4 separate regions of the Homo sapiens genome follow, and regions 2, 3 and 4 are each linked to region 1. Evidence: promoter capture Hi-C in human tissues and cell types (Jung and others, 2019). All regions are on one chromosome and are shown on one strand. Each heading gives the region's core, a stretch centred on a gene start or on the middle of the fragment in contact. The rest is flanking DNA. Distances are from core to core; before and after follow the strand shown. Region 1 holds the start of MIOX (myo-inositol oxygenase). Region 2 holds the start of ACR (acrosin). Region 3 overlaps SHANK3 (SH3 and multiple ankyrin repeat domains 3). Region 4 overlaps SHANK3 (SH3 and multiple ankyrin repeat domains 3).

Evidence for each region. The method cuts DNA at HindIII sites, captures the fragments that hold promoters and counts their contacts. A contact is called where the count stands out against the background at its distance.
Region 2: the fragment with the promoter of ACR here is called in contact with the fragment with the promoter of MIOX in region 1 in 8 of the 25 tissues and cell types used here (IMR-90 fibroblasts, dorsolateral prefrontal cortex, heart left ventricle and 5 more).
Region 3: a contact is called between a fragment that was not itself captured here and the fragment with the promoter of MIOX in region 1, in 4 of the 25 tissues and cell types used here (dorsolateral prefrontal cortex, lymphoblastoid cells, mesendoderm cells and 1 more).
Region 4: a fragment that was not itself captured here is called in contact with the fragment with the promoter of MIOX in region 1 in 2 of the 25 tissues and cell types used here (dorsolateral prefrontal cortex and mesenchymal stem cells).

Annotation. Positions count from the first base shown.
Region 1 is chr22:50,485,343-50,491,757 of GRCh38, forward strand. MIOX (myo-inositol oxygenase) reads left to right here and starts at 1,517. Exons shown (of 10, transcript NM_017584.6): 1 at 1,517-1,570; 2 at 2,043-2,123; 3 at 2,320-2,400; 4 at 2,544-2,706; 5 at 2,933-3,000; 6 at 3,698-3,807; 7 at 3,886-3,953; 8 at 4,055-4,104; 9 at 4,190-4,302; 10 at 4,406-5,306. The coding sequence starts at 1,556. The coding sequence ends at 4,514. ADM2 (adrenomedullin 2) reads left to right here. Exons shown (of 3, transcript NM_001253845.2): 3 at 1-1,095. The HindIII fragment of the contact is 6,574 bases long and covers 527-6,415 here.
Region 2 is chr22:50,734,540-50,740,954 of GRCh38, forward strand. It overlaps ACR (acrosin), which reads left to right and starts at 3,665. Exons shown (of 5, transcript NM_001097.3): 1 at 3,665-3,773; 2 at 4,732-4,935; 3 at 5,155-5,438. The coding sequence starts at 3,697. LOC105373100 (a long non-coding RNA gene) reads right to left here and starts at 3,630. Exons shown (of 2, transcript NR_134637.1): 1 at 2,851-3,630; 2 at 1,290-2,565. RefSeq lists an enhancer at 5,162-5,958. The HindIII fragment of the contact is 13,172 bases long and covers 142-6,415 here.
Region 3 is chr22:50,715,251-50,720,444 of GRCh38, forward strand. It overlaps SHANK3 (SH3 and multiple ankyrin repeat domains 3), which reads left to right. Exons shown (of 25, transcript NM_001372044.2): 23 at 419-503; 24 at 4,934-5,194. Among named protein-coding and RNA genes, the nearest start is that of ACR, 20 kb to the right of the region's middle. The HindIII fragment of the contact is 5,276 bases long and covers 30-5,194 here.
Region 4 is chr22:50,697,175-50,703,589 of GRCh38, forward strand. It overlaps SHANK3 (SH3 and multiple ankyrin repeat domains 3), which reads left to right. Exons shown (of 25, transcript NM_001372044.2): 13 at 383-387; 14 at 390-541; 15 at 1,516-1,629. Among named protein-coding and RNA genes, the nearest start is that of SHANK3, 28 kb to the left of the region's middle. RefSeq lists an enhancer at 6,402-6,415. The HindIII fragment of the contact is 9,753 bases long and covers 1-6,415 here.

The DNA.
Region 1 (6,415 bases), core at 267-2,766:
TTTCAAAAAAAAAAAACCTCCTCTCTTCCTTCACACCTTCCTCTGAATCCCACCCGGTCCCACCTCCTGAACCTATCCAGACACCTTCTCCTGACCCAGGCACCACCTGCTTTCGGGGCGATGGCCGTAGCCTCCTCCCAGGCACCTGTCTGCATCCCTCTGGCCAGTGCATGCTGAGCACGTGACCTACCCGTGTTGGGACACGTGAGGATACAGCCTTGACCCCCAGGGGCTGACATTCTAGGGGGAGATAGAAGGAGACAAACGTAGAAGGTAGAATAAGTGGGTGGTGGAGTGGCAGGGAGTGCTGAGTGCCACAGGAAGTCAGACAAGGAAGGAGAGTGTGGGGCAGGTGCCGTTTAAATGGGGGGCGCTGGGGTCTCCTCACAGTTGCTTCTCAGCTCAGCTGTGCCAGGATCTTGTTGAGTCAGGTCAGCTGCCCACAGCCCTCTTGCCTGACCCCTGAAGCCCAGAACTCTGATCTTCACAGCCCTAGGTATGGCCCCAGCACCCCACTGCCCTCTCTCCTGCCCCAGCCGACTGCTGTTCCCAGACTTCCCTGGCCACGCTCCAAGACGCCAGCTCTGCCGCGGGCACTTTGTTCTCACGGTGTCCTCCATGCCTGCAGGGCCCATGCATGGGAAGTTGCGTTGGCGGCCTGGGTGTTGGCGGTTCCGTGCCTGCTCCAACTCTCCGTGAGGCCCCTCTCCCAGAGCCTGACACACTCTGTGGCCGAACTCTAGGCAGGTGCCCCTGAGTCCTTTCCTCGACGAGGCCTGACCCCATCCCCATCCTCGCTGGGCCCGCCGACCCCGGTGTTAGCAAGAATCCTCTAAATCAGTTTATGGAGAATTACCCACCCTCGATATCTGATCCCATTCCTCATCTCCCACCCTTGATCTCATCACCCTGCCGGCCTCCTGCAAGATCCTCATTGAGCCACTCCAGTGAGAATCCCCCTACCCTCGAAGGCCGCCCTAACAACTTCCCATCCGCTGACCCCTCCAACGCCATCAATCTCCAGCTGTGGTTGTTGAACTCGGAGGTGAGCTCCTCTCACCACTCTCTTGAATAAAGCTTTTCTCACCATTTTAACAAGTCCTCAGAATCATCTTTTCTTAACAAGCTCCTGCCCCACCCAGAATCACGGGGGGCCTGGGGACAAGTTTTCACCTCCTGAGATCCAGTGGGGCAGCCGGGGAAGGGGTGGTGCAGAGGGGGCGTGTGCTTGAGGGTGGGGTCTTGGGTCTGCCCCTACTTGTGGGACCCCACAGAGGGGTCTAAGGCCAGGGCCCAAGTGGGAGGCTGGGCCCACAGATAACCCTAGGCAGGTCAGCGGCTCGGGACAGGAGTGTGAGGCTGAGTCAGGGCCAGAGGATGTGGGACTGCTGGGGGCTGCTGCTGTGCTGACACATTAACTCCCTGAGGCCGGGAGGAGGGTGGATGGTCATTTATTACTGCGGACACTTATGTAACCTGGGGTGTATATAGGAGCCTGGCTGAGGACACACTCGCCAGCCTGTGCTTTGCCACCTGAGCGCCGCTCCCTCTCAGGATGAAGGTGACGGTGGTGAGTACCCAGACCCCATGCAGAGAGGCTCTGCTGACTGCTCTCCTGGTGGCCAGCCACTCCCGCCCTCTTCTAGCTGGCACTGGCCAGCCCTCCTCCTCCGTCCAGCTGGGCAAGAGCCAGCGGCTGCCGACCCCCAGGCTCCCTGTGGACTCAGTCTCCTCCCAAAGCCACTTCCACCCCTCAAGGGTGGCCATGGGTGCCGCTCAGGCGTGGTGTCCCCTGTACCCCGGAAGCAGACGTCTGCTGACTTTCGCTTTGCAGATGAGGACCTGGGAGTGAGAGCTCCTGGGACTCGCTGAGGCCAGGGCAGGGGCTGGGATGATGGCGTGGGAGAGGCTGTGTCCTCGCGTGTCACCCACCAGCCCTCGAGCAGAGGCAGGCTTGGAGTCTGCAGCCACCCTGGGAATGTCTGTGCTTCCTCGTGGAGCTGACATGATGGTGAAATAGGTTCAATCCTCCACCTACCCAGGGCCCAGACCCTTCCCTGGTCTACCGACCTGATGTGGACCCAGAGGTGGCCAAAGACAAGGCCAGCTTCCGGAACTACACGGTGAGTACCTTGCCGTCCTGCCCCCCTTCTCCCCCATCCACACCCTGGGGAGCAGCACTTGCCCTTCACACAGTTCCAGGGGGTGCCCTGTGGGAACTCCCACCCCCATCACACCCTGTGGGGCTGCCTGGGAGAGGGGAGGCATGGGGCCTCGTGTGCAGGGTGGGGGTGGCGCCACTGACCCTCCGGCCTGCAGTCAGGTCCCCTCCTGGACCGTGTCTTCACCACCTACAAGCTCATGCACACGCACCAGACAGTGGACTTCGTCAGGAGCAAGGTAGGCGTTTCCTGCCGCCCCGTGCAAACGCGGAGGGACCCTTGCCCTCAGCCCCATGAGCCCACCAGGCGCCGAGGGGATGGAGAGGCCTGTGTGGTGGGCCTGCTGACCCTGGGCCACACTGCCTTCTCCTTCCCCGCCAGCATGCCCAGTTTGGGGGCTTCTCCTACAAGAAAATGACAGTCATGGAGGCCGTGGACCTGCTGGATGGGCTGGTGGATGAGTCGGACCCGGACGTAGATTTCCCCAACTCCTTCCATGCCTTCCAGACAGCGGAGGGCATCCGGAAGGCCCACCCAGACAAGGGTGAGCCCTGGCTGTGCTGCAGGGGGGCAGGTGCTGCCTCCAAGGGGCAGAATGCAGCAGCCTGTAGGGTGGGAGGGGACAGTAGTGGGCCCAGGCCTCCTCCAGCAGCCCTGCCTGGGTTGGGGAGCAGGCCCTGGACCCTTCCTGGCTCTCAGCCCCGCAAACCTGCTCATCCTCTGCCTTGGCCCCTGCAGTCCCCAACCTGCCCTGTCCATCCCCCTCCCAGACTGGTTCCACCTCGTCGGGCTCCTGCACGACCTGGGGAAGGTCCTGGCCCTGTTCGGGGAGCCCCAGGTAAGAGTTGGAAGTGGAGGGTGAGGAGGCTGCATGTTGAGGCAAGGTGGGGGTGGAGTGGCCTTGGTGCTTGGCCTGGGATACTACCTGGGGGACAGGCCAGTGCACCCCCCACGGCCCCCCGACGGCTGCCTGTCCCTCTGGTGGCCTCGGTGCTTGGCCTGGGATACTACCTGGGGGACAGGCCAGTGCACCCCCCACGGCCCCCCCCACGGCTGCCTGTCCCTCTGGTGGCCTCGGTGCTTGGCCTGGGATACTACCTGGGGGACAGGCCAGTGCACCCCCCACGGCCTCCCCGCACCACTCCCCCCACGGCCCCCCATGGCCGCCTGTCCCTCCTGTCACTCTGCAGTGGGCGGTCGTCGGCGACACCTTCCCCCACTTCCCCCACGGCCCCCCATGGCTGCCTGTCCCTCCTGTCCCTCCTGTCCCTCCCATCCCTCCCGTCCCTCCTGTCCCTCCCGTCCCTCCCATCCCTCCTGTCCCTCTGCAGTGGGCAGTCATCGGCAACATCTTCCCCCACTCCCCCCATGGCCGCCCGTCCCTCCTGTCCCTCTGCAGTGGGCAGTCATCGGTGACACCTTCCCCCACTCCCCCCATGGCCGCCCGTCCCTCCTGTCCTTCTGCAGTGGGTGGTCATCGGCGACACCTTCCCCCACTCCCCCCATGGCCTCCCGTCCCTCCTGTCCCTCTGCAGTGGGCTGTCGTCGGCGACACCTTCCCCGTCGGATGCCGTCCGCAGGCCTCCGTGGTTTTCTGCGACTCCACCTTCCAGGACAACCCTGACCTCCAGGATCCTCGATACAGGTGCTCCCTGCTGCTGAGGGCTGGGCCCCCTTCCCTGGGCGGCTGCTGAGCCCTCCTCACCCTGGTATCTCACTGCAGCACAGAGCTCGGGATGTATCAGCCCCACTGTGGGCTCGACAGGGTCCTCATGTCCTGGGGCCATGATGGTGAGGCCAGAGGCGGGCAGTGGGGCGGTGGGGGGCGGTGGGGGACGGTGGGGGGCGGTGGGGCAGAGGCAGTGCCTGCTGGTGACACCCTCTCCCCACAGAGTACATGTACCAGGTGATGAAGTTTAACAAGTTCTCACTGCCCCCTGAGGTAGGTGGGGGGAGGGGCAACGCAGCCCGTCCACCAGGCCCGGTCCTGCAGCCCCAAGTGAGCCGCTGGGTGGCCTTGCCCGCAGGCTTTCTACATGATCCGGTTCCACTCCTTCTACCCCTGGCACACGGGCCGCGACTACCAGCAGCTGTGCAGCCAGCAGGACCTGGCCATGCTGCCCTGGGTGCGGGAGTTCAAGTACGCCCCGCTACCCGCCGAGGGGTGTTGTGGGAGTGAAAGAGGGGGTTGGGTGGGGGGCCTGGGGGTTCTTCACGGGGCTCACCGCCCCTCCCTGCTGCAGCAAGTTCGACCTCTACACCAAGTGCCCGGACCTGCCGGACGTGGACAAGCTGCGGCCCTACTACCAGGGGCTCATTGACAAGTACTGCCCTGGCATCCTGAGCTGGTGACCCTCCTGCCACCCAAGCTGCTGCTGGACCTAGGCCTGGCCCTCCGCCTGCCTGGAGAGGCCTGGCCCTGGGCAAACAGCCGCCATCAGGGTTCACCTCGGTGGGGGACCCCACTCACCCCCTTAGGGTCGCCACCCCTCACGGCAACTTGTGCCTGGCGTCAATAAAGACCTGGAAGGATGTTGTGCTTCTGAAGCCCCACTGGGTGTTACTGCAGCAGGGCGTGGCCCAGGCCGAGGGATGGTGCCAGCAGGGTGGAGGCCAAGTCCCAGGCTTTCAGGTGTGTGTGTCCCACCACACTGGCCGTGGTAAACATCTGCCCATCCTCCCAGCTCCTGTGTCAGAGCCTGGGGGACGAGTCACCCAGCTCACCCCCACATGCTCAAAACAGTCACCAAGTCCTCTGGGCTCCGTCCCCTTAAAAAATACCCCAATAGCTAAAATAATACATTCATAGAAAACAACAAAAAACAAATGCAGGCTGGGCACAGCGGCTCACACCTATAATCCCAGCACTTTGGGAGGGCGAGGTGGGCGGATCACCTGAGGTCAGGGGTTCAAGACCAGCCTGGCCAACATGGTGAAACCCCGTCTCTACTAAAAATACAAAAATTAGCCGGGCGTGGTGGTGGGCGCCTGTAATCCCAGCTATTCAGGAGGCTAAGGCAGGAGAATCGCTTGAACCCGGGAGACAGGGGTTGCCGTGAGTCAAGATTGTGCCACTGCACTCCAACCTGGGTATCAAGAGTGAAATTCCATCTCAAAAAAAATAAATAAAATAAAATAAAACAAGTGCACAGTTTAAATGCTATAAAGCAAACACCTGCGGCCACCACCCCTGAACCGACTCTCCAGTACCCTCCGCATGCCCCGGGTGCGGCTCCCCGCACAGAGCAGCCCCTCCACAGGCTCTGCAGCCACCGTCCATCCTCTCTACATGGTTTTGTCACCCAGGCGTGCAGCCCTTGGTGCCAAAGAGTGGCCTCCCCTCCATCTTCTCTGAAATTCATCTCTGAAGAAAGTAGATTGTCCCAGGAAATTCGTCTTTGTGGGGATTCTGTACCTGTTAACGTTTTCCTCTGAACTTCTGCCAATCGGTGCACGGATTTAGAGGCTTCCCCAGATCCTGTTTGGTTGGTTGTGGGCACGAGTGCTTTCAGGCAGTGGTGTTTCCTGAGGAAGAGGCATGCGGTGCCTGTCCTGAGTGTTGTCAGCGGGCAGCTGTGGGCGTTCAAGCTTATCCGGATCCCCCACTCCCCTGGGTATGGAACAGCCCAGGTCACTTTCTGTCCTCGTCCGCCGCAGGGAACACTTCAGGAAGTGGAAGTTGCCTCCCACGTGCTCTTTGGCTACACAGTGGCACTGTTCGTATAGAAAGGCAGGTCGATGTTTCAGTCCTTCCCTTAATTTTTTTTTTTTTTTTTGAGACAGTCTCACTCTGTCGCCCAGGCTGGAGTACAGTGGGGCAATCTCAGCTCACTGCAACCTCCCTCTCCCGGGTTCAAGCAATTCTCCTTCCTCAGCCTCCCTAGTAGCTGGGATTACAGACCCACGCCACCACACCTGGCTAATTTTTTTTTTGTACTTTTAGTAGAAACAAGGTTTTGGCCAGGCACGGTGGCTCACACCTGTAATCCTAGCACTTTGGGAGGCCGAGGCAGGAGGATCACTTGAGGTCAGGAGTTCGAAATCAGCCTGGCCAACATGGTGAAACCCAGTCTCTACTAAACATACAAAATTAGCTGGGCCTGGTGGTCGGTGCCTGTAATCCCAGCTACTCCGGAGGCTGAGGCAGGAGAATCACTTGAACCTGGGAGGCGGAGGTTGCAGTGAGCCAAGATCGAGCCACTGCACTCCAGCCTGGGTGACAGAGCGAGACTCCGTCTCAAAAAAAAAAGGCA
Region 2 (6,415 bases), core at 2,415-4,914, 250 kb after region 1:
CCACTAGCCCCAGACTCTGAGTCCCCATGGAGGCCTAGGGCTCCATGTGCAGCCCAGGGAGACCCACCCTCCCGATTCCACACACTCAGGCCCAGAGCGAGTCAGGGGCCCCCTGCTCCCACACTCAGACCCTTGCAGGGCCCCCCTCCTTGACTTCCCGTGCAGCCCTTTCCTTATGATGGCCTCAGTTTCTAATCTGAAAATAAGATGAGGATTAGGAAATGTTGAAAATTTGAAATTGTGTGGCCTCTGCTCTTCCTGTGGGCTGGCACCCCCCAGCCACTCCCAAGACCTGTGGACAACTTTGGGGCAGGGCCAGGACATGGAGGCTGCTTTTGTTTTGTTTTGAGACAAGGTCTCACCCTGTCACCCAGGCTGGAGTGCAGGGGCATGATCGTGGCTCACTGTAGCCTCAACCTCCTGGAATTGAGCGATCCTCCTGCCTCAGCCTCCCAAGTAGCTGGGACTGCAAGCGTGGGCCATCACACCTGACTAATTTTTTTTTTATTTTTTATGAGATGGGGGCCTCATTTTGCTGCCCAGGCTGGTCTAGAACTCCACCCTCCTTAGCCTTTCAAAGTGCTTCGATGACAGGTGTGGGCCACCTTGCCCAGCCTGAGGCTGGTTTTCAAGCTGTCATCAACCATAGCCTCAAAGGGCCTTCGTCCTTCTCCATGGCGCCACCCAGACCCTCACCTGCTTGCTTAAACCACCCCCGAGGCACCTGCTTCCCCTGGGTGAAGACCTGAAACCTACCCCTTTTCGGCCCTCAAGGTTTCACTGCGTCAACCATTCTTACTCCCTCTGGGATCTTCTTGCCTTCCTGGCTGGCTGGACATTGAGGATGGTTGGATAAGGTTTCTGCTCCTCACGGAGGGTGGTGGGGACAGGAATGGAAAAGTAGGGGATTGGGGGCTGGAAGGGATTGGAGATCAGGGTGAGAAAAACTGGGGTGGGAGTTGGATTGCCCAGGTAAATAAGGCATGGGGACAGAAGTGGGCACGGCTGGCGAAGGCAGCGGGTGGTTGGGGTGAGCAGGAGCAGCGAGAATGGCTGGGATGAGCTGGAGGGGTGCCTGGGGGTCAGGGTGGAAGCAGAGAGCAGGGAGGAGTTTGAGGGGAGATGGGGAGCCCCCATCCTGCCCCCTGTGCTGAGCACTCTGCCTCAGCCTGAGCCATGCCCTCGGATGGGACCCCACCCTCTGGCCCCAGACCTGTCACCCATTTCTCCTTCGCTCTTAGAACAGCATGAAGAAGGTCAGACAAAGTCACTCTGAGTTGAGATGTTTGTTGCTTCCATTAGTTTAATGACAAAATTAAATGGGCCGGGCCAGGTACTTTTCCCGCAACCATCACTATAGCCACGGGCAGGCACGATGACTGGCAGCCCCTTCTAGAATCAGAAGTGGGTAAGCTTTGCGGAGTCAAACTGTAATGGTCTTCTAGAATCCAGACACTGACATTGGGTCTTCAGACTTTTTTATTGATACCTCCTAAATATTTGTAAAGAAATAGGTGCTATCCATTAAAAACACCCGAATAATATTTTCTTTAACAGTCAAAACTTTAATCTTCTTCTTTTTTTTTTTTGAGACAGGGTTTCACTCCCATTGCCCAAGCTTGAGTGCAATGGTGCGATCTCGGCTCACTGCAACTTCTGCCTTCTGGGTTCAAATGATTCTCCTGCCTCAGCTTTCTGAGTAGCTGGGATGCAGGTGCCACTGCACCTGGCTAATTTTTGTATTTTTTGTACAGACGGGGTTTTGCCGTGTTGCCCAGGCTGGTCTGGGGCTCCTGAGCTCAAGTGATCTGCCTGCCTCACCCTCTCAAAGTGCTGGGATTACAGGCATGAGCCTCTGCACTTGGGCCCACTTCTTCAATTCTTCTTGCCATTTCTTGAACCATATTTCCAAAGTCTTTTTCTGGTTATTTATGAGACACAACTTGATGCTCAGTTAAAATAAGTGAGGTCCGCTAACACTCAGTAGTGCAGCTGAAACCTATTCACATTCAAGTCACGAAATAGAACTTGTATGCCCTTCAGCTAGAGGAAGTGGGGCTACCTGACATAAAGGTAGAAAAATCCCCTGACACTCGGAGGAGATAAAGTGTCATGACTTAGATAGGGCATATAGGAGATAGGAGGTTTCATGACTCTCAGGTAAGGGAGATGAGACCTCCAGACAACCAGGAAGAGGTGAGAATACCTCCAGACCTCAGGGGGTTGAGATGAGAACTTTGGACACCCAGAATAGAGGAGATCTCATGATACTCTAGCAGAGGAGATGAAAGCTCCATGCCATTTAGACAGGGATATGAGACTATATTCAAGTAGAGGGTAGGACATGCCCTGGCACCCAGATGGGGGCAATGAGATCTCCCAACACTCTGGTATACCGGTGGAGACTTCAGAACATTCATATAGGTAAAATACAACCTCTTGACATTCAGCTGGAAGATGTAAGACCTCTTGATTTTCAGGTAGAGAAAGTGCGACAGGGTGACACTTGGGTGGTGGAGGTGAGAATTCTTAACCTGTAGGTGGAGGCGATGAGGGCCTCTGGCACTGAAGTGGAAAAACAGAGTTGTTATTTCTTTCAAAGAAGGAGGTGATCACTCCCTGATACTGGGTAAGATATACGAGACCTATTGAACATTCATTTGAGGATGTCATAAGTACGACATTCAGTTAGAGAAAATAGATAAATCAAGATCATCTGATAATCTGAAAACTCAACACTCAGGAATAGGAGATGAGATGTCCTGACACTCAGGTTGGAGGCATGGGACCTTCTGACACCCACTTAGATGATGTGCAACCTATTGACCCTCGGGCTGGTTGAGATCTTACATTCAGGTAGAAGAGGTAAGGCTGCCCTCATGCAGGTAAGAGTGTGACCTCCTGACACTTGCAGGCGATGGGAAATGTTTTAACATTCAGGTGTTTGCAATAAGCATTTGTCACACTCTGGTAGGTGAGATGCTAGTTCCTGATGATCAGATGGGAAAAATGATGCTTCATGATATTCAGGTAGCTGTATGAAAACTCTTGACATTCAAGTATAGGAGAAAACACCTTGCTCCACCTCAGTCACAGAAAGCCGATCTGGAGACATTCAGGATAATAGGAGACCTTGTGATATTCAGCAACGGACAGGAAGGTGGGCTTTGCAGTTGTAAATTAGGAAAATTCAAAATGACTCTTGGAAAAGTGTGTTGATAGCATTCACTTGGAAGAGGAAAAGAAAACTTCCCCAACAACAATTAAGGATCAATTAATCTGCTGACCCTGACTCCTCTGATCCACAAACATGTTGCACCGTCTCATCACTGAAGGGCTGAGCCGCTCCTCAGTCTGTGAGTCTGCAGTGGTCACAGCACGCATGAGAGGCAGACTCTGAACCTGCACAAAGCCAGAGCCTTGGGTGATGTGGGGACCTCGCAAGAGTTACTGGGAATGGAGATCCTGGCCTTGGGACAGAGGGAGTGGGGCTGCACAGGAGTCCCCCATCATCCTGGTGGTGGGGGAGCCTATGCAGGAAGTCAAGAAGTCTCTTCAGCACAAACCAGTTAAGGCGAGGGGCTCTTACCTGGCCTGACTGCTGGGGGTGGGGTGGGGGTCACCCCTGCTGATTGGCCAGGCAGCCACGGAGCTTTGTGAGGTCACTAGGCTTGCAGGCCAGGCAGTGCCAGGAGTATGGTTGAGATGCTACCAACTGCCATTCTGCTGGTCTTGGCAGTGTCCGTGGTTGCTAAAGATAACGCCACGTGTGAGTAAGTGTCGGGGCACCTTGGTGGGGGAAGGATCTTCTGAGGAGCAGGTACCACCCCGACTCCCTCTGTCCAGGGCTAGGGAAAAGGAGGCTGCATCCCTAACCTGGACCCCCCCTGCTCCCAGAATCAGCAGCCTGGAGCCCCCAGACCCTCAGCTTTCGTGGTTTCCTCCAGAGATGGACCCCTCAGCACCTCAGGCTCCTTGTGCCTCTCCCACTCCCCCAGGGACTGACCCCACTGTCTTGAAGACATGAAGTCCTGATTTTGGGAGCCCTTATCCCCCCACAGACAGCTGTCCCAACCCGTGGTTGCCCCCAACAGCCCCAGGATATCATCGCTTCACACCGCTTGCACCCCTACCCCCCAGTAGGCTCTCTCACTCCAAGGTACCCCGAAATACCAACACCTCCCAAGCTATATGTGGCCTCCCACCCGTGACACAGTTCCCAGAGCCTCCACCTCTAGACCTCCACTGCTCTCAGTGTGCCCCCTACACCTGTGGGCCACAGTATCTGCCCCTGGCTGCTATCCCTCCTCCCATCACTGTCAACGACCCCCTTCATCACCTGACTTCCCTGAGTCTCCCACCCAAGATTGGTTATAAGGACCTCAGGCCATTACACCCCTCTGTCCCCAGGCCCCGCATCCCCACCTCTACCCTCCTGTTCTGCCCAGGGACGGGCCATCCCTCAGGGCCCATGCAGCCTGTCCTGGCTTCCTATGGCCTCCTCTTTCTCCATCTGTGACTGCACCCACAAGACCTGAGAAGTCGTGGCCCCAGAACCATTTCCTAGAGCCTGCGGCTTCCTACATAGCGCAGGCTGCCCCTGCTTTCCCAGAACCCGGAAGCTCTTCCCCACTTTTCCCAACCCCATGTCCCTGCCTCCCCTCAGTTGTGGAGTTACAAGGACAGGCTGTGCTCATGCCAGGTTTGAACTGTGCTCTGGTCTCTCCCCAGTGGCCCCTGTGGGTTACGGTTCAGGCAAAACCCACAGGGTGGTGTCCGCATCGTCGGCGGGAAGGCTGCACAGCATGGGGCCTGGCCCTGGATGGTCAGCCTCCAGATCTTCACGTACAACAGCCACAGGTACCACACATGTGGAGGCAGCTTGCTGAATTCACGATGGGTGCTCACTGCTGCTCACTGCTTCGTCGGCAAAAAGTACGTGTAGGGATGCACTGAGGGAGGTCTTCAGAACGGCTCTTCTCAGAGAGGGGCGTTCCCCGGGGATGCTGTGCAGCGTCTCCCTGGGGCTCTGGGCCAAGTGGCTGCAAGACTCCGGGGGCTGGTCCAGACCTTTGCTAGGGGAAGGCCCTGAGGGTCGCTGTCACCAGGCTTTTGTCCAGCCGGTTGTGACCTGGCTTACCTTTGTGCCCACAGTAATGTGCATGACTGGAGACTGGTTTTCGGAGCAAAGGAAATTACATATGGGAACAATAAACCAGTAAAGGCGCCTCTGCAAGAGAGATATGTGGAGAAAATCATCATTCATGAAAAATACAACTCTGCGACAGAGGGAAATGACATTGCCCTCGTGGAGATCACCCCTCCCATTTCGTGTGGGCGCTTCATTGGGCCGGGCTGCCTGCCCCACTTTAAGGCAGGCCTCCCCAGAGGCTCCCAGAGCTGCTGGGTGGCCGGCTGGGGATATATAGAAGAGAAAGGTGAGTATGGGAGCGCCTCCAAGGGGGGACGCTGCTGGCCATTCTCCTGGTGGTCTTTGAGGTGCAGCGGTCACTTGTTGACACCCAGCCAGGCTGCTTTCATCCTCCTCACGGCGCTACACGTAGAGCCATCACTGTGGCCTTCCACAGTCCCCTGTGCCAGGTCACGTGATGGGTGACTCGTCTGGCTGTCTACGGGGGGGCTGACAGCAGGTGCAGGCAGAGCGCAGCGTTGCTTAGAATGGGGTTGAGGCTGTGTCTGTATTTGGCACCTGGGGCCCAAGCTGCTGGATCCTGGAAACAAGCAGCAACCCTGAAACAGCCTTTGGAGAAGAGCTCCAGATAAGGTTATGTGGCCGTATGACAGTGCCTTCCACTCTCTGGGCCTTGGTTTCCTCATCTGTAAATGGAGGGGCTGGATCAGATGGTCTCCAAGCTGACCATTTCCTAACACCTGTGATTCCAGGGCCCAGCCTTCCTGCTTCCAGGCTGTCTTTGTCACCATCAGCAGCCACCTCCGGTGCAGTCATAGCACCAAATCTACCCTCTCCATCTGAGTTACTTGACATTTGCTCTGTAGACTGGGAAGGGGACCGGTGGTTGGTGTGGCTTTCTGTGGGTCATAGGCATCCCTGTATTTCAGGCTTCCTGGAGTGTCCGGCAGGTACCTCTCCATTCAAGACGGGTGTAGCTGTCGCTCTAGAGCTCTGTCCATAACCAAGCTGTCTCTCTCTCCCCTGGCTCCCAGAAGATCTCTTGCCCATCCAACACTACCTGATACACTCGACACCAGATGAGTTCTAGAAGAGTAGGGGGAATTTCTTCCGTACCAGACCAGGCTCACGGAGGGCCCCAGGTGTGACCTAGAACAAATTGTCATTACTGACTCCGTGGTCAGAGACGCCCAGACACCTCTCCCTACATACTTAGGCACACTAGAGATACCATTTATCCCAGAAGCAACAGGTGACCCCATT
Region 3 (5,194 bases), core at 1,418-3,917, 230 kb after region 1:
GTAGCTTTTGGTGCCTCTGCCTTCAGGCAGTCCCTGTCTCACGCCTGAGACCACCAAGGTACCCCAGCTCCGCTGAGAACACGACAAAGCATGTCTCTGTTCCCTGCCCACTTGCCAACCCGGCGCCTTCTAGGCTCCTCCCCCACCCTCACCCAGGGTCGGCCAGGGTCTGCACCCACCCTGCCCAACACCGTCTACACTGTACCACCATCTGCACTGCCCACACAGCCCAGGCTCCAATGGGCTGCATCCTCTGCTCCCTGAGGGCAGAGTCCAGACGTGATTCCTGGGTCCAGGCACCCACAGGCACTAGTGCCATTGGAGTGAGAGCGTGGGGTGTCTCACCTCTGGCTTAGGAGGAGGACTGGGGGCCCCCAGTGCCCTGGAACCTCCATATTCCCCTCCCTGACCCCCACAGTCATTGTTTGAACGCCAGGGCCTCCCAGGCCCAGAGAAGCTGCCGGGCTCCTTGCGGAAGGGGATTCCACGGACCAAGTCTGTAGGTATGGCTGCGCTGTGGGGCTGCATGGGGTGGGGAGGAACGGGGCTGGGGCCGGCAGGGTGGACTTGGGTTTGAAGGACACTGCCTCTCTCTGCCCATAACTGGGGTTTCCAGTTTCCCTCTCAGTCCTGTCTCTTCCTGGCCCCAGCTAAAGGATCTCATACGTTGATGGACATGTGGGGATTAGGCCTTCCCCAACCCAGAGCTTTCCCCCGGCAGCCGACACTCCCTGTCCAGTGGGCACCGCCCCCCATCGCCTCATCCCTCCCATGGGCAGTCTCATCCCTGTCCCCAGCTGCCACTCCCTGTCCACTGGGCACCCCCACCTCCCCATCACCTCTCATCCCTCCCATGGGCAGCCTCATCCCTGTCCCCAGCTGCCACTCCCTGTCCACTGGGCACCCCCACCTCCCCATCACCTCTCATCCTTCCCATGGGCAGCCTCATCCCTGTCCCCAGCTCAGCTGCCTCCATCGCGGTTGCTCCCTTGCAGCCCAAGTGCATGTGAAGTTTCTGACCCTCAAACCCCCTGAACTTGCCTCTCCCCTACTTCTCCATGTATTGCTGTCTCCCCCCTTCACAGCCAGTTTTCCCCAAAAAGTCACCTCTACTGTCCATCTTGTCTCCCGTCCCCCACCGGCTCCTCAGCCTGCGGCAGACTTCCTCTCTCCATACCCAAATTGAAACTGCTCCCACCAGGGTCACCGGCGGCCTCCAGGGCCTTCCTCCCCATGGATGCATGGCCAGCACTCCTGCTGACCTCAGCTGGCATTTGGTTTCTTTGCTCCTTCTTCCGTGAAACGCTCCTCCCCAAAGCTTTAGGACAACACTTACTGGTTTTCCCCTCCTTTCTCAGATGGCACCTATTTCAACCCTGCCGCCCCAGCCTCCCAAATATGGGACCTTTTCAAGGCTGTGTCTTCAGCCTCCTTCCCCTCTGTGCCTCACCACTCCCCAGCCACCATCACACTCCACACTCACCGTCTCCTTTCCTGACCCAGATGGGGACATGTAACAAGCCCTGCCCACTGTGCATCCCTCCAGACATCCACTCTCCCGTCCCCTGCCCACCTGTGCATCTGTCCACCCACACACCTGCCCACTTGACCGTCCGTTGTCCATACAAACCCCAGCACACCTCCCATCTGTTACACATAGGAGTAAACCTCTCAGCACTTACTACGGGCTGGACACTGAGCATTTAATACTTAGAATAACCATATTGAGGTTGAGACCACTAGTACCTCCATTTTACAGATGAGAAAACTGAAGCAAGGAGGGTAAATGACCTGCCCAAGATCACACAGCTGCCCAAACTCGGATTCCTCACCTGCCTCAGGACCCTGCCAATTTGTGTTCACACAAGGCCGATCCTGGGCCAAGTCTGGGGCTTGGTTAGGGAATGTGACGTGTGCAGAGAGCTCAGCGGGCACATTGTGGGTGCCAGGGCTCACGGACCAATGGAGCCCACTGGGGGGCTCCAAGCACACCTGGTGTCACAGAAGGCTGTGTGTGTCGGGGTGGGGGTACTTTTGAGCTAAGATGTGCAAGATAAATGGGAGTTTCTGGGCGATAATGGGGTGAACTGACAGAGCAGTGTGGAAAAGGCATATGGGTGTGTGACCTGGTCCCTCAGAGACTGCCAAGAGTTATTTCTGTAGGTGGGATTGTGGGGAAGAAGGCTGGTGAGGCTGCAGCTACTTTGGAGCTGAGAAGCGCTCTCCCCTGCTCTCCCTGGCCTAAACACTGAGTGTCTTCCATGGTTTCTTTCTTATCCTCTGCCTCACCTGATGTGTCGGGGTGGGTGGCCTCACAGCCCTGCCCTGCACAGGTCTCATCACCTTGCAGCTGGACCATGGCTTTGTTCTCATGACTGCCTGCCCTGGCTCTGCCCTCTGGTCCATCCCTCTGGCCAAATCAGGCTTTCCGCAGAGCTGCTATCACCCCATATCCGTCCAGCTTGACCCTCTGTGCACTCCTCATTGCCTCAGGGCCCTGGAGATCGGCCCCAGTGCTCTCCTGCTTCATCTGGAAACATTTGTCTCTGCCTCCCTTGACCTGGGTCTTCTGACTCTTGCTGTTCCTGGGCCCGACCCTGCAGGTCTAGGTCCATGCACCTGCCCTGCAGGCCTTGAGCCACTCTCCTAGGACTGCCAGTTCTGCACTGGTCCCTCAGGCACCCTCTTGTACTCGGTTGATGGATGGGTGGACAGGTGCTCCTTTTTGGCTCCTCTTGGCCTGCTGGGCCTCAGCTGCCAGCATGCACATTGGTTGGGTTGTCAGACTCCCCAGGCCCCTGCCCCATGCCCTGGCTCTGTTGCTCTGGGCACACGATGCAGCCCTTGAAACATCAGGATTTTGATCCATAAACATGGAGACCACCTATTACCCACCTCCAAGGACCACTCTGAGTCTCCCCCGGTAGATGGCACTCACAGACCGCGTGGCATGCTGGGAGTGCTCAGCAGCTGCCAGTGTTAGTAGACGTAGATGCTGCCTCTTGAGGTTGGCACACAGTGGGTGCTCGAGAAATGCTCTCTGCTATGACCTAGGCAGACAAAGAGGGTCTGCCTCTGCCCCCAAGGGGTCCCACCCCCGCCCCAGATGGTATCAGAACAGATTCCCCATTCCATGCTGAGGCAAGTGACTTTTCTTTACCCTAAGTCAGAACTTGGCATGCTATTAGCATTAAGTTTCCCCTTATTTCATCTTTGCACGTCACTCCCGCCTTCTGCATCCTCAAGGTGCGCTCATTCTGCGTCGCTCCATCTAACACATAGGCTGTGGGTGTTCACTGCGTGTTCATACACAGTGCAGGGAATGCAGCAGGAGACCCAGGACGAACTGGGCACAATTTCTCTGTCCAGCGGTTGGGGATGGGGGGAAGGCAGACCTAAAAATCACGATGATGATGACCTCGGCCCCCTTCCCCCATTCCCAGGATACTGCTGCAGTTCAGCCCTGCACTGTAAAGGTGAAATCGCCCCACAATAGTTGCAGGCTGTCCTCTTGACATGAGGAAACTGAAGTTCCTAGAGGCTTCTGAAGTTCCTGGCAGATCTAAAATTCAAGCCTAGGTCTGTACACAAAAGCCCACCCTTGGTACCTTGGCTACAAAGAGATATTATGCCCAGCAAGAAGCAGTGTAGTACTGGAGGCCTCATTAGCACTGCGGTGGCTGGAGGAGGATGCGATCAGGAACAGGCAGTCTGTATTTTAGCGAGTTCATAAAAATGTTGACCAATCTCAGAGTGAGGCTGGGAACAGGAGCACCACGAGACCTGGGTGTGTGGGTGTGGGGCCGTCCGCCCCCTGCAGCCTCACTGAACACACCTGCAGCACGTGTGTCCGCATCATGATGTCCACAGGGGTGTTCAGGAGGTTGTGTCAGGTTCTGCTGGACAGCAGGAGCATGAGGGCCCTGAGCACTCCAGCCCCTGCACAGGACCCTAACAATGATGTCTGAGCAAGGCATGCAGAGGGGGGTTACTGAAGCTCAAAGGGGCTCAGGGCCTGGCCTGGGGTCACGCTGCCAGTAGGGGTTAAAATGAAACATGCTGGGTGCTCAGCCTGCAGTTCCATTTTGATTGATCCGTCCGTTCTTCCCTTCACCCACTCACCCATGCGGGTCTCTGGGAGGAGCCTCTCAAGGCTTCCTCCACAGGGCACCTCCTTACCTGGGTGGGCATTAGGTCTTTCTCTGCTGGAGGCCTGGCTCCAGTGGCCACAGCCCTGCTGCCCCTCACCCTGCCAGTGTGTCACTCCTGCTCATTTCCGACTATCTTCCTCTCACCTCTGGTTGCCTCCAGGGCTGGTACTTCTGCGTCGGCCTTGTTGATTCTGGGGTGGGGAGCCCTGTACTGGCCCCTCCAAGCCCCTCAGCAGTTCTGTCCCCATGTCTTGCGGGGCTGTCCCTGCCTTTCTGGGATATCTTCTCAGGGCCTGCTTGATGACCCTGGGTTTGGGCAGGTCTTGGCCCCAACCCAGGCCGTCAGAGTTTGTGTCCTTTCTCAGGGGTCCCCGGTGGGGCCCTCCTCCATCCTGTAACTGAACGCACACCTCTCTCCTGTCCTCTTCACAAGAGCCCTCCCCGTGCAGCCCTGGGCCTGGGGCACAGAGCTTGGGCATCCAGGGACCAGCCCAGACCAGGGTCTTGCTCGGAGCCCGGGCTCTGGGCTCCCTGTTTCTCCCCTGCCCTCCATTCCCCGCCCACCACGGGTCCCAACCCCATCTTCCCGAGCATTCTAGCTCCTCGCGCCGGGTTCTGCCGCGGGCGTCCATTGTGTCCGGACGGTGGCTTCCCCGGGGTGGAGTCGGGTCAAGGCTGGCCTCTGTGGGAGGGGGTTGCCGGGGTCCCCAGGAACCTCTCCGAAGGCAGCACCACCCCCCGCCCAGCGCCCTGGCTGGTCTCACCGGCCCTTCCGTCCGCAGGGGAGGACGAGAAGCTGGCGTCCCTGCTGGAAGGGCGCTTCCCGCGGAGCACCTCGATGCAAGACCCGGTGCGCGAGGGTCGCGGCATCCCGCCCCCGCCGCAGACCGCGCCGCCTCCCCCGCCCGCGCCCTACTACTTCGACTCGGGGCCGCCCCCGGCCTTCTCGCCGCCGCCCCCGCCGGGCCGCGCCTACGACACGGTGCGCTCCAGCTTCAAGCCCGGCCTGGAGGCGCGCCTGGGCGCGGGCGCTGCCGGCCTGT
Region 4 (6,415 bases), core at 1,847-4,346, 210 kb after region 1:
GTGGGCGTGGGCAGGGGCCGGTGTCCAGGACGAGGGGACCCAGGCCTAGAGGGGGACTGGGCACCCAGCGATCCGGGCCCTGGACCTGGAGGGGTGGGGGGGGCGCCCCTCCCTCCCGTTCACCGGCTCCAGGCGGCTTTGCTGGTGCCCGAAGCCCCCGCCCCATCCCCCGCTCCCACTAGGCTGCCCTGACCACCGTCCCGCGTCCGCGTCCGAACTCCCCCTCCCGGGGGTCGGCGGCGAGGGGAGGGCGGGAGGGAGGGCGCGAGGGCCGCCACCACCGCCCGCAGAGGGAGGAGCCCGGCCGTGGAGGAGGCGGGGCGCGGGGCGGCCGCGGCATGGAGCGAGCCTGGCGCGCCCAGGAGCTGTATTCGAATTCGAGCTCGGTTCCCCGCGCCCCCTGCGCCCCCCGCACCGCCGCCCCGGGGCCCGAAGCGGAAACTTTACAGCGCCGTCCCCGGCCGCAAGTTCATCGCCGTGAAGGCGCACAGCCCGCAGGGTGAAGGCGAGATCCCGCTGCACCGCGGCGAGGCCGTGAAGGGTGAGGGGCGCGGGGGGGCGCGGGGGGGCGGGCCCGGCGCGGGGAGGGGGCGGCGCCGCGCGCGGTGCTGGCCGGGCCGGGGCAGTGGCTCTGGGGTCTCCTCTGCCGGGGCGGCCCTGGGCCCTTGTGGGATCCCTGGTGTCACGGTGAAGGGCTCTGCCTGGGGAAGGTTCCTGCCGTGCGGGTCCCTCCGGTGCTCTGTCGTTCCGGGCTCCCTGTGTCACCACGGAGGCTCCTCTCTCGCCACGGGCGTTTCTGTGTCCCCGGGGGTCTCTGCCTGAAGGACCCTGTCCCATTACAGAGCTTCCTTGCATTGCGGGGTTCCCGTGGCACTTCTGCAGCTTCTCCATTGGAGGCCCCTGCGATGTGGGGGACCCTTGCCGTCGTGGGGTGTCTGTGACCGTCATGTGGGTGTTTGTGTTATGCAGGCTTCTGTCACCGGGGCTTCCTGTGTTCTGGGGGGATCGCGTGCCATGACAAACCCCTCTCATTCTGGGGGTCTCGGGGCCATCACTGGGCTCCTAGCCTCAGGGCCGGCTGAGGTGGAAACAGCCCAGCTGGTGCATCACGTGGCCTCACCCACTGGCCACAGCACGATGACCCCGAGCTCTCGGCAGTGACCCCTGGGTGGGTGACAGAGCCAGGATGGGGGTCGGTTGAAGGGGCTGGGGGAGCATGGTCAGCTGGGGGTGGGGGCAGCAGCAGGAGTGTGGCCCCTGCCCCTGCCTGCGCCCCTCCCCGAGTGTGTCCATCTGTGTGTCTCTCTGTCCCCCACATGCCCACCCTGTGCCGAGCCCATCTGTTCCTTTCTCTCTTCTGCGTGGATCCCAAAATCTTCCCAGGGAAAAAGCTGGGAGAAAGTGGGAAGGGAAGGAGGGAAAGGGCAGGGGGTGGGTGGGCAGAACCTGCTCCTGAGGTGGGGTAGGCGCCCAGCTCTGCTCCCCACTGACGGCCTGTCTGGCTTCTTCCTCCAGTGCTCAGCATTGGGGAGGGCGGTTTCTGGGAGGGAACCGTGAAAGGCCGCACGGGCTGGTTCCCGGCCGACTGCGTGGAGGAAGTGCAGATGAGGCAGCATGACACACGGCCTGGTGAGTGACCCCACGGCTCCCCGGGCAGCTCCCAAGGGGACCACCCCTTCCAGTTTCCCTTTGTTCTCTCTTGGTGCTAAATCCACATGGATATTCATAGAGAAAAGACTAGAGGTAAACTCAAACAAACACTCAAAGTAGATGCAAACTTGTGTACATGACACAGACACGTGTGCACACACTCTGCATATACTTGGGAACATGCGTGTATGTAACCTGACGCTTCACGTGCAGTGGAGACACATAGGACGTGTGTGACGGGGCCTCTGTCTGTGTGATCCCACATTGACTCCCAGTGACTTGCACCCCACCAGCACAGTCCTTCAGAAACACCAGGTGTGTGGAACGCATGATTCCTGCGTAGCTGGCAGACATGTAAGGAGGTCAGTGTGAGAAAAGAGGCGTTTTTCCAAAGTGGACAGATTGTCCAAGTGGGCAGAGCAGGCAGGCCCGGAGCAGCCAAGAGGAAATGAGGCCAGTTGGGCCTGGAGGTGCCCTGGTGAGTGCCCTGGGGCAGGGATGGTCTGAGGGCAGCAGGTGAGGCTGGGCTGGTCCTCAGCCTGCAGGGAGGATGTGAAGGTGAAGGCTGCAGCTCCTGGGTTGGTGAGTGGCTGCTGTCCAGCCCTGCTGACCATCTGGTCCTTTGGGGGCCCCCGGGCTGGAGCTGGGTGCGTGTCTTGGGGGTGCCCTTGCAAGGAACCCTCAGGGGTCCCGGGAGGCCCCCAGATCCATGCATGTGCTTCTGTCCTGGAGAGCTGGTGGGCCAAGCAAACCTCTCCTGAGTGATGGTCACTGGGGGCCATCGGTGGTGTGTCTGGATCAAGGGTGCATGCACCCTCCCTCTGCATGTGAAGGGCTCAGGCCTGGGGTTACTGTGTCCCCATCTCTGTGTCCCCACCTCTGAGAGTTTCCCAGCGACTCCACCCCTGTACGGCCTGGACCCCTGCCCTGTGCTGAGCTCAGCAGAGGCCCAGGGAGGCAGGAGCTTCGCCACTGACCTTTTCCTGGGCCGGTGCCCTTTCCTCCTTCCTTGGCCTTGTTCTGCCTTGCTCTGACTGGTGGCTTAGAGTGTGGAAGGGACTTGGCCCCCTGTTCTCAGCCCGCGGAGGGTGGATAGGGCAGGGTCCAGATGGGAAATGGTTTCAGAGATTTGGGCCCTGGTTCAGACAGTATGGGAGAGGGGAGGGGAAGGAGAGGTAGGGGGATCCACACCTGTGGCGGGAGCGGGTCTTGAGCTCCCCCACGTGGTGGTGAGGAAGGTTCTGGTTTGAGGACTGTGTGGAGTGAGGGGCATTTGGACCTACGTCTGAAGCTGACGGGGAGGGAGGGGGGTTTAGGCTGGAGTCAGAATTGGAGAGCAGCAAATGTTTTTTAGGTGTTTGTCATGTGCTGGGCCCTGTGCTGGGAGCCGGGATCACGGAGGCTCAGCTGGAAGCCTTGTGGGAGCAGTGGCTGTGACGGGGGCCGTGTGAGCGTGGGAGCTCCCTGGGCTGGCCTGAAGGAGTCAGAGAGGGCCTCAAAACAGAGGCATTGTCTGAGCTGAGTCCTCTAGGTGGTCAGCGGCTGGGGCTGAGGGGACAGCCGTGTGTGCAGGGTCCGTGTGGCGCTCTACAGCTGTGTGTCAGCACGGCCTGCTCTGAGTGCCTGGCACAGTTTTAGCACTTCTACACGTATAAGTCGTTGACTCATCCCAGCAGTCCCAAGAGGTGGGGCCACTTGTTGTTATTCCATTTCTAGGGGGTCACATGGCCCTGAGGGGCAAAGTCTTGTTTGCAACACAGGCAGCAAGTTCTATGTGAGTGAAACGCCTGCATGGGGTGAGGGGCGAGGCTGGTGTGGGGACCACGGGGTGGTCAGGTGGCATGGAGTCAAGTGACAGTGTGGCATCATGGCGGAGGGAACCCAGCCGCAGTGTCTGATTGTGCAGGTTGTGTAGGATCAAAGCCCGGGCTGGGCAGAGCAGAGCAATGGAGAGGAGGGTTCAGGTCTGGGCTCCAGCCAGCAGCCATGGTGTGTGTGACCTGGGGAGTGAGTGTCAGAGGTCCCGGGGTAGACGGGAGTATTTCATGAGTGGGCAGCGGGAGAGGGACCTGCGGAGGCTGCCTGCGAAGGGCAGGGAGTGGGAGCAGTGACAGTGCCCTCTGACCTTGGCTGCAGGCCCTGCTGGCCACACTGCGCAGAGCCTCTGCTCTGGGATCCCGGGGCCGAGTTCTGCCAGAGGCCAGAGTGCAGCCCAGGAACAGGAACCTGCTTCCAACAGGCCCAGATCTGCTCCCCCCACCCCCCAAAAAAATCCATTTCCGGGACTGGAGTGGGGACAGAAAAGGACTTAAAGGTTAGGGAGGGGACATAGTCCCTGTGCGTGCAGGGGCTGGTGCCCAGAGCCGGTGCCTGCTGTGGGATCGGGAGGCGAGTCCTGGTCACTTACCCAGCAGAGAGCAGTCTCCCACGGCACCTCCTGGCAGGCAGAGGGTGGAGCTGTGAGGGAGGGAATGGAGAAGCGAGGTCAGGTGTGTTCTGGAGGCCCAGCAGGAGCAGGCCCTGTGCCTTCCCTCCCCTCCCTCCTTCCCTTTCTTTGCAGTAAGGTCAGCACTTGGGTGGGTAGTAGGAGATGGCTGTGTTGGGCATTTTCTCTTCAGCTGGCTTTTATGTGTCTTATTAACAAAACTGGAAAAATGAGTTTGTGTTATGTAATCCATACAATTTGTTTGGTTGACAACATCTGAAAACAGGAGGCTGGTCAAGTGCAAGTGTGGCGGGTTCTTCAGCAGGCAGCACCATGACACTTCCGTGCCTCTGTCGACGTGGAGAAGGGTGTGATGGAGGAAAGGAGGGGTCTGATGCCCCACCTGAGTGGTGATGAGGCTTGGCCTGAGCTGGCCTTAGGTTCAGCGGGATGAGGGGTGCAGGTGTGGTTGGGGAATGCCAGGATAAGATATAGGTCATCAGAACCAAGGGGATCCTCCAAGTTGGATTTCTCTATTCTATATGGGCGGGCTTAGAGGGGGCTGTTGACTTACTGAGAGTCACACAACGTAGTAGCTGGGACCTGGAATCCAGCCCGATACTTTTTTGATATCTGTGCCTTCTGATAGAAATAGGCACTCTTTCCTCTTTCCGTCCGGCCACTGCTCCACCTATGTTTACAGCCATCTATCCTTTGACTCACCCACCCATCCCACCATCATCTTCTTAACCGTTGACTCACCAGCCAACCCAATCCACCACCCCTCCCTTCCTCCATCCATCCACCTCTCCACCTACCTGTCTACACACCCAGTCCATCCATCCATCTACCCATGTATCTGTCTGCTCTTTGACCTATCTACCCATGGCCCTCTCCTTCCCTCCCTCCATCCACTGGTCCAGTGCCTTTCAATCCACCCTTCTGTCCGTCTATCTCAGATGCACCTGTCCACCATTTACTCTCCTAGTCAGCATCCCTTCTGTCCGTCTATCTCAGATGCACCTGTCCACCATTTACTCTCCTAGTCAGCATGCAGAATGCCTGTGACGTGCCAGGTGCTGTGCTGGGTGCTAGGATCACAGAGATAAAGAACATGTGGCCCTTACCCTCAAGGAGCTCACAATTAGTGGGGGAAACAGGTCATCGAAAGCTGCAGGTTATCTTTCTGATCTCATTTCCTGCCACTCTCTCTAGCTCCCTCTGCTCCAGCTGCACAGGCTCTGAACTCTCTCAAATGCTGCAGGCTGATGCCTGCCGTGGGCTTCCCCTGACCACCCCCGCTCCTGGGAAGCCCTTTGCCCACATATCCACAGGCTGCTCCCCATCCTCAGCCTCTGCTCAGCCCTCCCGTGGGGGTGAGGCCTTTGCGTGCCTTTCTCTGCCCTCCCTGATCTGCTCGCTGGTCTCCTGAGCACTTGCCAGCATTCGCATGCTATGTCTTTATCCTCTGTTTATCCTGTCTCCCAGAACAGATTATAAACCCCACGAGTGCAGAGACTTTGTTCTCTTCTCTGCTGTATTTGCAGAGCTGGTACACAGTAGGAGCTCAATAAATACTTGCTGAAGGAAAACATGGATCTTGAGAAATGCTACCAAGAGAGGAAATGAGGAAGGTGCTGAGGGATGAAAGCGAGGCAGTGGTGGTGCTGCCTGTGGGGCCTTTGCGGTCCTGGAGAGTGGAGCTGCGGGGCTGGGAAGGCTGGTGGGTGGGGCTCGCAGGCAGCTGGAGGAGCTCGTGGGAGCAGAGAGGTCATGGCTGGAGGTGTGGCTCGAACCTTCAGGTCAGTGAGGGTGGAGTGGTGGGCAGACAGCTGGCTAGCTTGGTGCTGGCCATGTGGGACTTGAGATCAAGAGGACAGTTGGGGACCAAGCTCTGTGGGATGCATCGAGGTCAGGGCAGGGGACCCAGCCCACACACCTAGATCCCCTGCCCCACTCACAGTTAGTCTGAAGCAAGGGACCCCATGAGGTTGAGCATCAAGGAGCTATTGTGAAGAAGTTGGTGAAGACAGAACGCTGCTTCCATGCCAGCGCCTATAGGCACATAGCACGGCATTTGTACATGAGTGTGGGTAATGCAGATTCAGATGTGCACACACACATGCATGAACACACCTCACACGCACATGACGGCAGGTCACACAGACACATGAGCACGGCACTTGCACACAGTGGGCTCATATAGAGACACGTGCATGAGCACAGCATCTACACATGACCACGGATCTCTCACACACACACGTATGTGCACACCCCCCTCTTTGCTCGCAGCCTTGGGGCTCACTTACGCTCTGTGGACGGCTCTGGCCTTGTTTGGAC